2 separate regions of the Homo sapiens genome follow, and region 1 is linked to region 2. The links are contacts of gene promoters, found by promoter capture Hi-C in blood cells and fetal thymus (Javierre and others, 2016). All regions are on one chromosome and are shown on one strand. Each heading gives the region's core, a stretch centred on a gene start or on the middle of the fragment in contact. The rest is flanking DNA. Distances are from core to core; before and after follow the strand shown.

What was found. The method cuts DNA at HindIII sites, captures the fragments that hold promoters and counts their contacts. A CHiCAGO score of 5 or more calls a contact.
Region 1: the fragment with the promoter of OR2G3 here is called in contact with the fragment with the promoter of OR11L1 in region 2 in 3 of 17 cell types (naive CD8 T cells, erythroblasts and total B cells); the score reaches 6.5 in naive CD8 T cells.

What each region holds. Positions count from the first base shown.
Region 1 is chr1:247,604,124-247,611,225 of GRCh38, forward strand. It overlaps OR2G3 (olfactory receptor family 2 subfamily G member 3), which reads left to right and starts at 1,463. Exons shown (of 1, transcript NM_001001914.1): 1 at 1,463-2,392. The coding sequence starts at 1,463. The coding sequence ends at 2,392. The region is part of intron 2 of LOC102724446 (a long non-coding RNA gene); the gene reads right to left. It also overlaps the pseudogene LOC124904709. The HindIII fragment of the contact is 9,716 bases long and covers 1-5,111 here.
Region 2 is chr1:247,838,700-247,845,961 of GRCh38, forward strand. OR11L1 (olfactory receptor family 11 subfamily L member 1) reads right to left here and starts at 3,197. Exons shown (of 1, transcript NM_001001959.1): 1 at 2,229-3,197. The coding sequence starts at 3,197. The coding sequence ends at 2,229. The HindIII fragment of the contact is 3,435 bases long and covers 258-3,692 here.

The DNA of each region.
Region 1 (7,102 bases), core at 213-2,712, 240 kb before region 2:
CTTCTTTTGAGAAATGTCTATTCATGTCATTTGCCCACTTTTTGATAGGATTATTTGTTTTTTCTTGCTGATTTGCTTGAGTTCCTTGTAGATTCTGGATATTAGTCCTTTGTCAGATGCATAATTTGCAAAATATTTCTTTTTGAATCTTCTTACAAAGACAAGTGAATCATTCACACATTCTCTTCCGACATTCTCCAGATGACTTTGAGTTTTCTTCAACAGTCTCATAAATTACTTTCATTTTTGTTTATAATTTGTTTTGTGTTTTTGACATTTTGAAAGTTAAGGAATTTTATTTATTTTTATTTTTATTTTTTGAGATGGAATCTCACTCACTTTGTCTCCCAGGCTGGAGTGCAGTGGTGCGATCTTGACTCACTGCAACCGTCCACCTCCCAGGTTCAAGCAATTCTCCTGTCTCGGCCTCCTGAGTAGCTGGGACTACAGGTGTACACCACCACACTTGGCTAATTTTTGTATTTTATTACAGATGGGGTTTCACCAAGTTGGTCAGGCTGGTCTCGAACTCCTGACCTCAAGTGATCCACGTGACTCAGCCTGTCAAAGTGCTGGGATTAAAGGGGTGAGCCACAGCATCTGGCCAAAACGTTAGGGAGTTTTAATATATTTATCTCAGGGTTCCTTCAAACAAATTTTATATTTATAAGAATACTGCAATGCATCTTTAACTCTTATAATTATATATATTCCTTTGAGTATATGTATTTTTCTTCACTAGTAAGGACTATTAGCCAACTTGGTTAAATAATGCCTAAATAAATAAAAAATTTTAAAACTAATTTTTATTTTTTGGCAGTTCAATCATTGAATAAACTTTTATGAGATGATTTGAATTTATATCATATATTTTGGTTCCTTAAATATGTCTTTTCATTTTCCACCAGTTAGTACCAATGTGACACATATCAAAAATGATTTTCTATCTCCTTCATACCAATCATACCCATTTTAAAGGTTTTAAAGTCTTTGTTTTAATTAGTTTTATCTAAAAAGTCTTCCCCATCTGATTGTGCTTACAATCAAATCTGAGTAAGGTATTTCATATGCAGATAATTTATTGACAGTTGAAAATCAGGGAGATACTGTTCACCGTATTTTGAGAGAAATTTATTTTTAGTGGTAGGTCATTGTGGATTTTTTGATATGCATGTAAATATGCACTTTGATTGGCTTTAATAATCAATCCCCAGACAACTCCAAAGTTGTAATCATTCATAATTTTTAAAGATGAGCCTTTGAACTGGAATGAAGAAACATGGATTGATGTTCCAAGTCAGCAGCACATTAGTGAAAAATGAATAGTTTAGGGTGAAAAATGAATAGTTTGGGAAAGTTGGTCTCCATGATCCTCTCAGCTCATGTGTTCTGTTATTCTAAATTTAATTGTTTTGGATGTACCCATTCCATTCCTGCCTTAGGTGCGGATCCCCCTGGAGGGATGGGATTGGGCAATGAGAGTTCCCTAATGGATTTCATCCTTCTAGGCTTCTCAGACCACCCTCGTCTGGAGGCTGTTCTCTTTGTATTTGTCCTTTTCTTCTACCTCCTGACCCTTGTGGGAAACTTCACCATAATCATCATCTCATATCTGGATCCCCCTCTTCATACCCCAATGTACTTTTTTCTCAGCAACCTCTCTTTACTGGACATCTGCTTCACTACTAGCCTTGCTCCTCAGACCTTAGTTAACTTGCAAAGACCAAAGAAGACGATCACTTACGGTGGTTGTGTGGCGCAACTCTATATTTCTCTGGCACTGGGCTCCACTGAATGTATCCTCTTGGCTGACATGGCCTTGGATCGGTACATTGCTGTCTGCAAACCCCTCCACTATGTAGTCATCATGAACCCACGGCTTTGCCAACAGCTGGCATCTATCTCCTGGCTCAGTGGTTTGGCTAGTTCCCTAATCCATGCAACTTTTACCTTGCAATTGCCTCTCTGTGGCAACCATAGGCTGGACCATTTTATTTGCGAAGTACCAGCTCTTCTCAAGTTGGCTTGTGTGGACACCACTGTCAATGAATTGGTGCTTTTTGTTGTTAGTGTTCTGTTTGTTGTCATTCCACCAGCACTCATCTCCATCTCCTATGGCTTCATAACTCAAGCTGTGCTGAGGATCAAATCAGTAGAGGCAAGGCACAAAGCCTTCAGCACCTGCTCCTCCCACCTTACAGTGGTGATTATATTCTATGGCACCATAATCTACGTGTACCTGCAACCTAGTGACAGCTATGCCCAGGACCAAGGGAAGTTTATCTCCCTCTTCTACACCATGGTGACCCCCACTTTAAATCCTATCATCTATACTTTAAGGAACAAGGATATGAAAGAGGCTCTGAGGAAACTTCTCTCGGGAAAATTGTGATTCCTATGGACATGATTTGCAAGGAATTCATTATAAGCCAGGTAGCTTATTCAGCTTCTATTTAGTCAAACCCATAGTTCTAAATTTCACATGAACTATATTACTGCTCACTTATTTTCTCTTCATAAGGGACTTTTTCCTTTTTTATGTGTAACTAAGTAAAATGTTTATATGTTTATTTGAGAGCATAAACTATTGAAAAGAGAGCTGTGGATGGTTGTAAATTGTGATCCTCACCACAAAGCCTCTATTTTATGTCTGATACTTATTCCCAGGGATTCAGAAAAATAAATTATTAAGTATTTACCATGTATTTATCTAGGTTAGGAGACTTTTCTTCAGTTTTAATAAAATGTTCAGTTTCCTGCCAAACACTTTACATTTACATCGTAATGTCCTTCATTATAGCTTTATGTTGAAAATAAGCAATTCCTGCATGTGCTCGTAGTTCAAATTTATTGGTCAGTAGGATATTGCATAAGCTATTTTTAAATAACCGTTCCAAATACATTTTAAGAATTTATAAGGGGTAACAAGAACAAAATACGCTAAACACATTATTTTTCATAACTTAGAGTGTGCATCTCTTTTTGTGTTCTGAGGCCACTTTATCCTTGTGCAGGAGCCATGCTCATCTTCTCTGTATTATTTCAATGTTAGTATATGAGTTGCAGAAGTGAGAACTGAGGTCACTTTATACATGGTAGGTACAAGACTTTTGAAAGAATAAAATAATCAAATAATTTTCTTCTATACCTTTTCATACATTCAATCAATGAGAATAATTGGACTTCAAAAGACATTATTATTTTCTTTTTTTAAAAATACAGCTTCATTGAGGTATAATTGATATACATATTTAATGTATAAAATTTGAGGAGTATGGGCTAGGCGCGGTGGCTCACACCTGTAATCCCAGCACTTTGGGAGGCTGAGGCGGGCGGATCACGAGGTCAGGAGATCGAGACCATCCTGACTAACACGGTGAAACCCCGTCTCTACTAAAAAAAAAATAAAAAAAAATTAGCTGGGCTTGGTGGCAGGTGCCTGTAGTCCCAGCTACTCGGGAGGCTGAGACAGAAGAATGGCGTGAACCCGGGATGCAGAGCTTTCAGTAAGCCAAGATCGCGCACTGCACTCCAGCCTGGGCGACAGAGCGAGACTCTGTCTCAAAAAAAAAAAAAAAAAAAGAAAAAAAAAGAAAAAAAATTTGATGAGTATGATATATACATACACCCTTGAAAATATCACCACAAAGTAATACACATAACCATTACATCTAGAAGTTTCCTTGTGCTTCTTATTTGTGCTTGTTATAACACAACATATGATCAACACTTTTAACAAATTTTTCAGTGCACAATACTGCACTGTAAACTATAAGCACTATGCTTTATAATAGATCTCTTATAACTTATTCATCTTGCATAAATGAAACTTTGTACTTATTGAACAAAAACTCCCCATGTTCTTGTCTCTCATCCCCTAGTAACCATCATTCTATTCTCTACTTCTATGATGGTAACTATTTTAAATATTTAATATAAGTGAAACCACACACTACTTGCCCTTCTCTGACTAGCTTTTTTATTTAGCATAATGTCCTCCAGGTTCATTCATATTGTTGCAAAGGGGTCAATTCAGCAAGAGTATATAACAATTGTAAACATATATGTACCTGACATTGAAGCACACAGATTATATAAAGCAACTATTATTAGAGTTAAAGAGAGAGATAGGTAGGCTCCAATACAACAATAGCTGGAGACTTCAACACCCCACTTTCAGCATTGGACAGATATTCCAGACAGAAAATCAACAAACAAACATTGGACTTAATCTGCACTACAGACCAAATGTACCTAATAGACATTTACAGAACATTTCATCCAAGAGCTGCAGAATACACATGCTTTTCCTCAGCACATGGATCATTCTCAAGGATAGACCATATGTTAGGTCACAAAACAAGTCTTAAAACACCCCAAAAATTGAAATAATATCAAGCATCTTCTCTGACCACAGTGGAATGAAACTAGAAATTAATAACAAGAGGAATTTTGGAAACTATAAAAACACATGGAAATTAAATAATATGCTCCTGAATGACCAGTGGATCAATGAAGAAATTAAGATGGAAATTGAAAAGTTTCTTGAAATAAATGATAATGAAAACACAACATATCAAAACCTATGGGATACAGCAAAACCAGTACTAAGAGGAAAGTTTATATCCATAAAAGCCTACATCAAAAAAGAGGAAAACTTTCAAATAAACAATCTAATGATGCATTTTGAAGAACTAGAAAAGCAAGAGCAAACCAAACCTAAAATCTGTAGAAGAAAAGAAATAAAAAGATCAGAGCAGAAATAAATGAAATTGAAATTAAAAAGGTCAATAAAAGAAAGTTGGTTTTTTGAAAAGTTAGACAAAATTTATGAAACTTTAGCCAGACTGAGAAAAAAAGGAGAATGTCTGAATAAACAAAATCAGAATAAAAAGAGACATTATAATTGATGCTGCAGAAATTCAAAGGTTCATTAGTGGCTACAATGAGCAACTATATGCTATTAAATTGGAAAATCTAGAAGAAATGAACAAATTTCTAGACACCTAAACAACCTACCAAGATTGAACCCTAAGGAAATTCAAAACCTGAACAAGCCAATAACCAGTAACGAGGTCAAAGCTGTAATAAACAGTCTCCCAGTGTAGAAAAGCTTTAGGACCCAGTGGCTTCATTGCTGAATTCTACCAAACATTTAAAGAAGGACTAACAGCAATCCTACTCAAACTATTCCAACAAATAGAGGAGGAGGGAGTACTTCCAAACTTATTCCATGAGGCCAGTATTACACTGATACCAAAACCAGACAAAGACACATCAGAAAAGGAACACCACAGGCCAATATCTCTTATGTTATTGATGCAAAAGTCCTAACAAAATTCTAGCAAACAAAATTCAACAATACATTAGAAAGAAAGATTATTAATCATGACCAAGTGGGGTTTATCCAAGGGATGCAAGGATGGTTCAGCATATGCAAATAAATCACTGTGATATATCGTATCAGTAGAATGAAGAACAAAAACCCATGTGATCACTTCAAATGATGCTGAATAAACATTTGATAAAATTCAATAATCCTTCATGGTAAGAGCCCTCAAAAAACTGGGTATAGCACCATGGAATACTATGTAGCCATAAAAAAGAAGGACTTCATGTCCTTTGCAGGGACAAGGGGGAAGCTGGAAGCCATCATTCTCAGCAAACTAACACAGGAACAGAAAACCAAACACCACATGTTCTCACTCATAAGTGGGAGTTGAGCAATGAGAACACATGAACACAGGGAGGGGAACATCACACAACGGGGCCTGTCGGAGGCATGGAGGGTAAGGGGAAGGAGAGCATTAAGACAAATACATAATGCATGTGGGGCTTAAAACCTAGATGATGGGTTGATAGGCACAGCAAACCACCAGGCACATGTATACCTATGTAACAAACCTGCATGCTCTGCACATGTATCTCAGAACTTAATGTAAAATTTAAAAAAACTGGGTATAGAATGAACATACTTCAACATAATAAAAGTCATGCAAAATGGACCCACAGCTAGTATCATCATGAATGGGGAAAAACTGAAAGCCTTTCTTCCAAGATCTGGATCACAACACAGATGCCCACCTTCCCCACTGTTATTCAACATAGTAGTGGAAAACCTAGCTAGAGCAATCAGACAAGAGAAAGAAATAAAGTGTGTCAAATTGGAAAGGGAGAAGTCAAATAATTATCCTTGTTTACAGAAGATATGATCTCATATTTGGAAAAACCTAAAGGCCCCACCAGAAAGCTATTAGAACTGATAAACTCAGTAAAGTTGCAGAACACAAGAGTACAAAATAAGTAGCATTCTACATGACAACAGTGAACAATATGGAAAAGAAATTTTTAAAATCCCATTTTATGTGTAGTGTCACATAAAATTAAATACCTAGGAATTAAGCTTAGCCAAAGAAGTGAAAAAGCTCTGTAATGAAAACTGTAAAACACTAATGAAGGCAATTAAAGAGGACAACAAAAAGTGGAAAAATATTTCATGTTCATGGATTGGAAGAATCGATATTGTTAAAATGTTCTTACTACTCAGAGGAATCTACAGATTCAAAGCAATCCCTATGAAAATACCAATGACATTCTTCACAGAAATAGAAAAAAAATTATAAAACTTATATGGACCCACAAAAGACCCAGAATAACCAAAGCTATATTAAGCACAAAGAATAAAACTGGAGGAATCATATTACCTGACTTCAAATTATACTATAGTGCTATAGTAACCAAAACAGCATGGTACTGGCACAAAAACTGACACAAAAATCAGTGGAACAGAATAGAGAACACAGAAACAAATTCACACATGTACAGTGAACTCATTTTCAACAAAGATGCCAAGAACATTCACTGGAAAAAGACAATCTCTTCAATAAATGGCCCTGGGAAAACTGGATATCTACATTCAGAAAATGAAACTAGACCCCCATCTCTCATCATATACAAAAATCAAATCATAATCAAGACTTAAATTTAAGACGTCAAACTATAAAACTACTACAAGAAAACATTGAGGAAAATCTGTAGGACATTTGTTGGGCAAAGATTTCTCTAGCAGTAACATCCCACAAGCGCAGGCAACCAAAGCAAA
Region 2 (7,262 bases), core at 1,947-4,446:
ATTCACACATGCAAAATATATCATGTCATTCCCTAATTAGTATGTTTTGATAATCATTTCCCTTAGTGCAAGATCTGAAAACCCTATGAGGTTTTTAATGACAGAGATGGATTAGCCCCTACCATTCTCTCCAGACTGAGCTCCTTCCTCTATCTCCCCAGTTCCTCAGCCTTCTTCTGCCATGCCCTAGCTGGACTACTCTCCACTCTTGTTCTCCTCACTCTTGAAGCGTAGGTGAAGTGCTACATAACATAGAAAGCTTCCCTAATCATGTATGTTGACTCAGACTTGTCGTCCTGTGTTCATGCTCCAGCTTGCACTTTATTATTTCTTTTCTTTGGGATGGAGTCTCGCTCTGTCACCCAGGCTGGAGTGCAGTGGTGCAATCTCGGCTCACTGCAAGCTGCGCCTCCCGGGTTCACGCCATTCTCCTGCCTCAGCCTCCCGAGTAGCTGGGACTACAGGCACCCGCCACCACACCTGGCTAATTTTTTGTATTTTTAGTAGAGATGGGGTTTCACTGTGTTAGCCAGGATGGTCTCGATCTCCTGACCTCATGATCCGCCCGCCTCGGCCTCCCAAAGTTCTGGGATTACAGGGGTGAGCTACTGCGCCCGGCCTCACTTTATTATTTCATAGTGATCATCACAAGTAGAAATAAATCAATCATTGCTTTATGATTTGTTACATTTTTCTCCTCCCTTCTGCATTGGAAGGTCTATTAAGGTAAAGTCTTGCTTGGCCCTTTCTTTCTTTTTTCTTTTTTTTTTTTTTTTTGAGATGGAGTTTCATTCTTGTTGCCCAGGCTGGAGTGCAATGGCATGATCTCAGCTCACAGCAACCTCTGCCTCCTGGGTTCAAGTGATTCTGCTGCCTCAGCCTCCCTAGTAGCTGGGATAACAGGCATGCCCCTTGCCCGGCTAATTTTGTATTTTTAGTAGAGACGGGGTTTTTCCATGTTGGCCAGGCTGGTCTCGAACTCCCGACCTCAGGTGACCGCCCACCTTGGCCTCCCAAAGTGCTGGAATTACAGGCGTGAGCCACTGTGCCTGGCTTGCTTGGTCCTTTCTATGTCATTGTCTTTCCGGGAAATTCAGACTGTGGCACAGGACGTGGCATGCTTCATGAGATTAAAAATATTTGTAGAATTAATGAATCAAACAATGGGCAGGATTTGTAGAGATCTTCTAAACTGGCTGAATAAAATAAACTATAAAAGTGATTTAAGAGCCTGGGCGCGGTGGCTCACCCCTGTAATCCCAGCACTTTGAGAGGCCGAGGCGGGTGGAGCTTGAGGTCAGGAGTTCAAGACCTGCCTGACCAACAGGGTGAAACTCTATCTCTACTAAAAAAAAAAAAAATACAAAAATTAGCTGGGCCTGGTGGTGCATGCCTGTATTCCCAGCTACTCAGGAGGCTGAAGCAGGAGAATCGCTTGAACCTGGGAGGTGGAGGTTGCAGTGAGCCAAAATCGTGCCATTGCACTCCAGCCTGGGCGACAGAGTGAGACTCTGTCTCAAGAAAATAAAAAGTGATTTAAACATTTTAGTGACATCCTCTGACTCTCAGGACTCACAGTAGCACAGAATACTGAGGATCTTCTCCTTCCTCCCTCCCTCCCTTCCCTCCTTTCCTCCCTCCCTCCCTCCCTCCCTTCCTTCCCACAATTTCATTAAACAAAAAACACTAAAACATCTAAGGTCTTGTAGATGAATATTTGGCACTTCAAAGGCCTTACTTCTTTCTTATCTTTAGGAGATAATGTAGGTCAACAAACATTTTAAATGTCTTCTTTTTTTTATTTATTCTTTCTACTGCTATTTAATAAGCACCAATGGCACCCACCAGGTTTTAGGTCCACAAGGCCAGTCTACTAAGAGTACTTAAAAGATGCAGAGCTTTCTGTACATAAGGTTATGTAAACAAAGGGAAATCTTATTGTAGAATGTGAAAGTAATGTGTGTGTAATCACCATCCACTGGAATTCAATCAGATTTTCCTAACAAGATGTTAGAAAGTGTCTAGGACAAAACTGACCTCAAAATGGTTTGATGGAGGCAGTTTATCTTCTGACCAGTTGCTAGTGAGGAACCCTCAAAAAGCTGTTGTTTTGTGGCCTACAGAATTCAATGCAGTTCTGACAATGATCTTCAGGTTTAAAGGTCTGAATCTACCATTCACTTAACCCTGAATTTAATCCACTGCATGTTCTGTGCAATTTTCTTTACCTAATAAAGGAACTTCCTTTTACTTGTACTCCATAGAATACCACATTTCCTTCTCATGACCTTTCTAACAGCTTCTTTGAAGTCTTTGTTCCTCAAGCTGTAGATAACTGGGTTCAGCAGTGGTGTGACCACAGTGTAGAAGACAGAAATGATCTTGTTGATTTCAGGCAACAGGTGGGGACTGGGACACACATACATGGAGATCATGGTCCCGTAGTAGAGAGTGACAACAGCCAGGTGGGAGCCACATGTGGAAAAGGTCTTTCTCCGGCCAGAGGTGGAAGGGATTCTCAATATGGAGGACACAATGAAAACATAGGGCCCCAGTGTCAGAAAAAAACAAATGCACAGCACGGCAATTGACAGGATGAAGATGGTCACCTCGGTGATATAAACTCTGGAACAGGAGAGCTGCATGAGTGGCGGGAGGTCGCAGAAGAAATGGTTAATCTGATTGCGCCCACAGAAGTCCAACCTGGAAATCATCAGGGAAGGCAGAAAGCCTGTGCTGACCCCTGTGCACCAGGAGACCACCACCAACCTGGCACAGAGCCCACGATGCATGAGGAAGGGGTAGCGGAGTGGGCTGCAGATGGCCAGGTAACGGTCATAGGCCATGAAGGCCAGGAGAAAGCACTCGGTGGCGCCGAGGAATACGAAGAAGTAGAGCTGTGCCATGCAGGCAGAGAAGGAGATGGCTTGGCCCCAGGACAGCAGGTTGGCTAGGAGAAGGGGCACAGTGGTGGACGTGTACCAGACCTCCAGAAAGGAGAGATGCTGGAGGAACATGTACATAGGGGAGTGCAGTCGCAGGCCCTGGCTCACCACGGTGATGATGACAACATTCCCTATAATGGTCAGGCAGTAGATGAGCAGGAAAATGACAAAGAGCAGGGCCTGCCATTCAAGAAGGTTCTGGAATCCTAACAGCTGAAAGTTAGTCACAGTGGAGGTATTTTGGGGCTCCATTGCCTGTGGGGGATGAAAAACATTCTGGAAAAGCACAGGATGCAAGGCGCAAATTTATCACTGGTGATGCTTGGAACTTCAGAGATTAATTTTTAAATAGTTTAGATCTGTATGCACAGCTTTTTAGAAGGATAAATGCATAATTCCATATCTCTTTCGTAAGAATACATTTTGAAATCTTAAGCTGAATGTGAATATTAGATCTTGTAAGGAGACTCAGCAAGTTTCATTCATCTGGGTTCTCTGAAATCTTGAAGTCTCCTTCCAAAGACAGGCAAAAAAGGACTCTTATTAGTAGATCTTCAGTGTTCTCACCATACAAAAAAGAAAAATTGAGGTGATGAATATGTTAATTGGATTGATTGTGATGATTATTTCACAATGAATACATCTACGAGAACAAAGTTGTACACTGTAAATATATAGTATACAATAATTATCAACTACACCTCAATAAAGCTGGACAAAAACTCAGAAAACTAACAATAACAACAAAGCTTTAAAAAAAATCCTGCACGGCCGGGCGCAGTGGCTCACGCCTGTAATACCAGCACTTTGGAAGGCCGAGGCGGGCGTATCACGAGGTCAAGAGTTCGAGACCAGCCTGAGCAACACAGTGAAACCCCGTCTCTACTAAAAATACAAAAATTAGCTGGGTGTAGTGGTGCCTGCCTGTAATCCCAGCTACGTGGGAGGCTGGGGCTGGAGAATCGCTTGAATCCGGGAGGCGGAGATTGCAGTGAGCCAAGATCGCACCACTGCATTCCAGCCTGGGTGACAGGGCGAGACTCCGTCTCAAAAAAAAAAAAAAAATCATGCACATGTGGAAGCAAATGCCTTTCCCTTCTCATCTGTGGGCTTTGTCTGAAAAAGAAGCCAGACACAGCACATCTCCTATGCCATCTTGGGAAAGTGTATATATTCCACCCTCAAACAATATTTATTAGTCCCTGCTGTGTGTGTGTGTTTGTGTGTGTGTGTTTGTGTGTGTGTGTGTGTGTGTGAAGGCCTGTGCTGAACTAATCTGCCTCACTCCACTGGTGTCCTTTCTTGCCTCATCCGATACCATACTCATGCTCAGCCACTATAATTACACCCTCGTGTACACCTTTTATTCTTTCATTTAATTCATTGTCTATAGTTCTGGATAAAGTAAACATCCACCTGCCATACAGGAGCTTCTGTGAAGTTGAGGGAGTGAGACAAGCAAGAATAGAACCTCTTTAAAATGTACAACCAACAAACTCAGTGTGCCCTTACTGCTGGAGAGCAATCATTCTGTATTTCCCTTATAAACCAAAAATAAAATTCTAAACCCCACAACTGACTGAGCGGACTCCTCCTTTCAGCCAAGGGGATTTCAAAGAAACCTAAAAATTCTGGTTCAGATCATGATGGGAAGAGGGGGTTGGACAAACCTCATTACACTCTCCTTTCTTCAGAATTCAGGCATAACTGAGCAGCAATAACATCAAAAAAGAGATTTTAAGGCTGACGAAACAGACTCTGTAGAAATAAGCTACCAAATTCTAACCTGACTCTAGTATAGCATCATGACAGACAGCCGACCCTGAAGGAAATGGAAATATTTTACCACAAAATATATTTATTTGTCATATTTAAAATGGCCCTGCAAAGCTGTCTCTTGTGGGGGAAATCTACATTCTGCGGAGAATCCCTTTCCCTCTCCAGGCCTTTGTCTGATCCTCAAGAGATTAGCTGAAAGTCTAGCACCTTTTAAAGGTCTCAATAGAACATTTTTCCCATCTGCTGCTTCTCAGGCTGGCAACATATGAGACTTCATCTACATCATAAGAACCTTGGTTTCCCCAACCCCCCTATCTTAACCCAGATTCTCCTTTCTATTGATTCCAGGTCTTCAGACAATAACTTAATTCTTTCAACCAGTTGCCAATCAAAAAGTCTTTGCATCCACGTATGACTGTAACCTTCCCCCATTCTTGGAGCTGTCCTGCCTTTCCAGACCAAACCAACGCATAGCTCACACGTACTGATTGATGTCTTATGTCTCCCTAAAATGGATAAAGTCAAGCTGTAACACAACCACCTTAAGCACATATTCTCAGGACCTCCTGGGACTGTCACAGATCATGGTCTTTAAATTTGGCTCAGAATAAACCTCTTCAAATATTTGTTACAGACTTTGGTTTTTATCAATACCCGTATCTATTCACTCTTCCAATCTCCTAAGTGACTATTTCACTTATGTTGCTCTCTTTTCGAACGTCTAGCACATCCCTGTTGCTCTGTACCCTCAGTAAGAGACTTATTTCACTGGAAGATCCTGAAATCCTTCAGTGGAAGTATCCACAAGCTCAGGCCACTAAATTCTGCCATCGACTACCTTTTGTTCCTGTGCACCTACTCCCTACACTTCCTCTGAGTAAACTATCTGTGTCCAAGTCTAAGGCAAATCCTTCCACCTGGGCATTAGGCGCCATAACCTCCTACACACTGGAAAGGTATTGCAGGTGACAGAGGCAAAACTATTCCTATCCAAAAGACTCAGGAGTGTTGAGCTGAAGAAGACGAACACACAGGGGACCTGCCCCTTCCTCTGCTTTCCTGAAGGCAGGACCAAGATTTACAAAGACAAAGGTCTTCCTGCCTCCCCTCTGCCTCTTCCCACCTGAAGACAGTCTCCTTTATAATGCTTGCTTCTCAGCTCAGACAGCAACGCCAGGGATCTCGGAACAGACTACTCTTCCTGTAAATTTTCCTTCCCAAATGTCTTGCTTTTGGGAAGCCTGAAGATGCCGTTTTTTTTGTTTTGTCACCGTAGAGGATGTATGGCTCCTTGCTAAGATACTATTTCAGCAAGGCCTCAAAGCCACTGCTTCCAAACCGTCGCAACAATCTAGGTGAGCCGTTTTCCTGAGAGAGCTGCTTTCTTTCTTGTGGATGGGCATGACATGCATAAATAAACATGCTTGTTTTTCTCTTGGTGATCTGCGTTTTGCTCATGAAAATCTGTCCTAGCAGTGAATTTAATGAAAGTCGAGAAGAGAAATTCTTTTTTTCTCTCCTTCACTGGGTATTCTCAGCTTCATGCCTGAATCACCCATGGTGCCCTTTCTGCCAAAGCATTTCCTCAGCATGTCAATGGGCTGGATTTCTCTCCCCCACTTTAAAAAGACAAAACAGAGAAGAATGTCTAGAGGCTTTGCTGTTCTCTGAATACTACCTGCACTTTTCTGCTCCCTTTTCCCGATGCTTTCCCTTCTGGAGGGCACTGTCCCTCCCTGCTGCTCCTCGTCCTCTGCCTTCTTGCTCGCTGGAATGCACTATGATCAGGATGTTTTTCTTGCCACTGCCCCAGACGGCGCAGCTGTGCTGGCATTGCCCTCCAACCACCCATCGCATTCCCGATCCTCTTCATCTGTGGCATCATCGCACCATTGATCCCTCCCTCTTCCTGGATCCACTGGTCACTTAATATCCACAACTACATACTCTCTTAGATCAGCGACAGCCCTGGTTTTTCACACTTGTACAGGGCTTCGTGTCTTTCAATCTACCTTCATTTCCTTCACAGTTTCAGGCAGTCTCTTGACTTGAATGCTGTCACTTTGCTCTCAGCCCTCAAATTTATGTCTCAAGCTTGAACAGAAGCGTCCTGTAAAAACTGCCCTATGTGAAATGCTCACTCATGACTAGTCAGCATTTGCAATTTAACGAGACCTAACTTAGCTGACCAGCACTCCTGACTACCCCAGCCTCCCTCAGTGCAGCCTTCCCATCTCCATCCTCCCACTTGCTCAGACCAGAAACTCTGAATTTGACTCTTGTTCCTTTCAAACCCAATGTCCAATTTTTCAGCAAAATTGACTGGCTCCACCTGAAAATGTATTCAGAACTGATCTGATCACCATTTACGACCACCATCGCTTGCTGCCTGGAAAAGGCACCACTATCTCTTATCTAGATTGTTGCAATAGTTTCGTTAAAGCACCTCCACGTCCAGCCTGCCCCACTCAAGAAAGCAGTCAAAGAGAATATTTTAAAACACGGGAGAGTTTTTGCAGTGAACACAGATGTACTGTG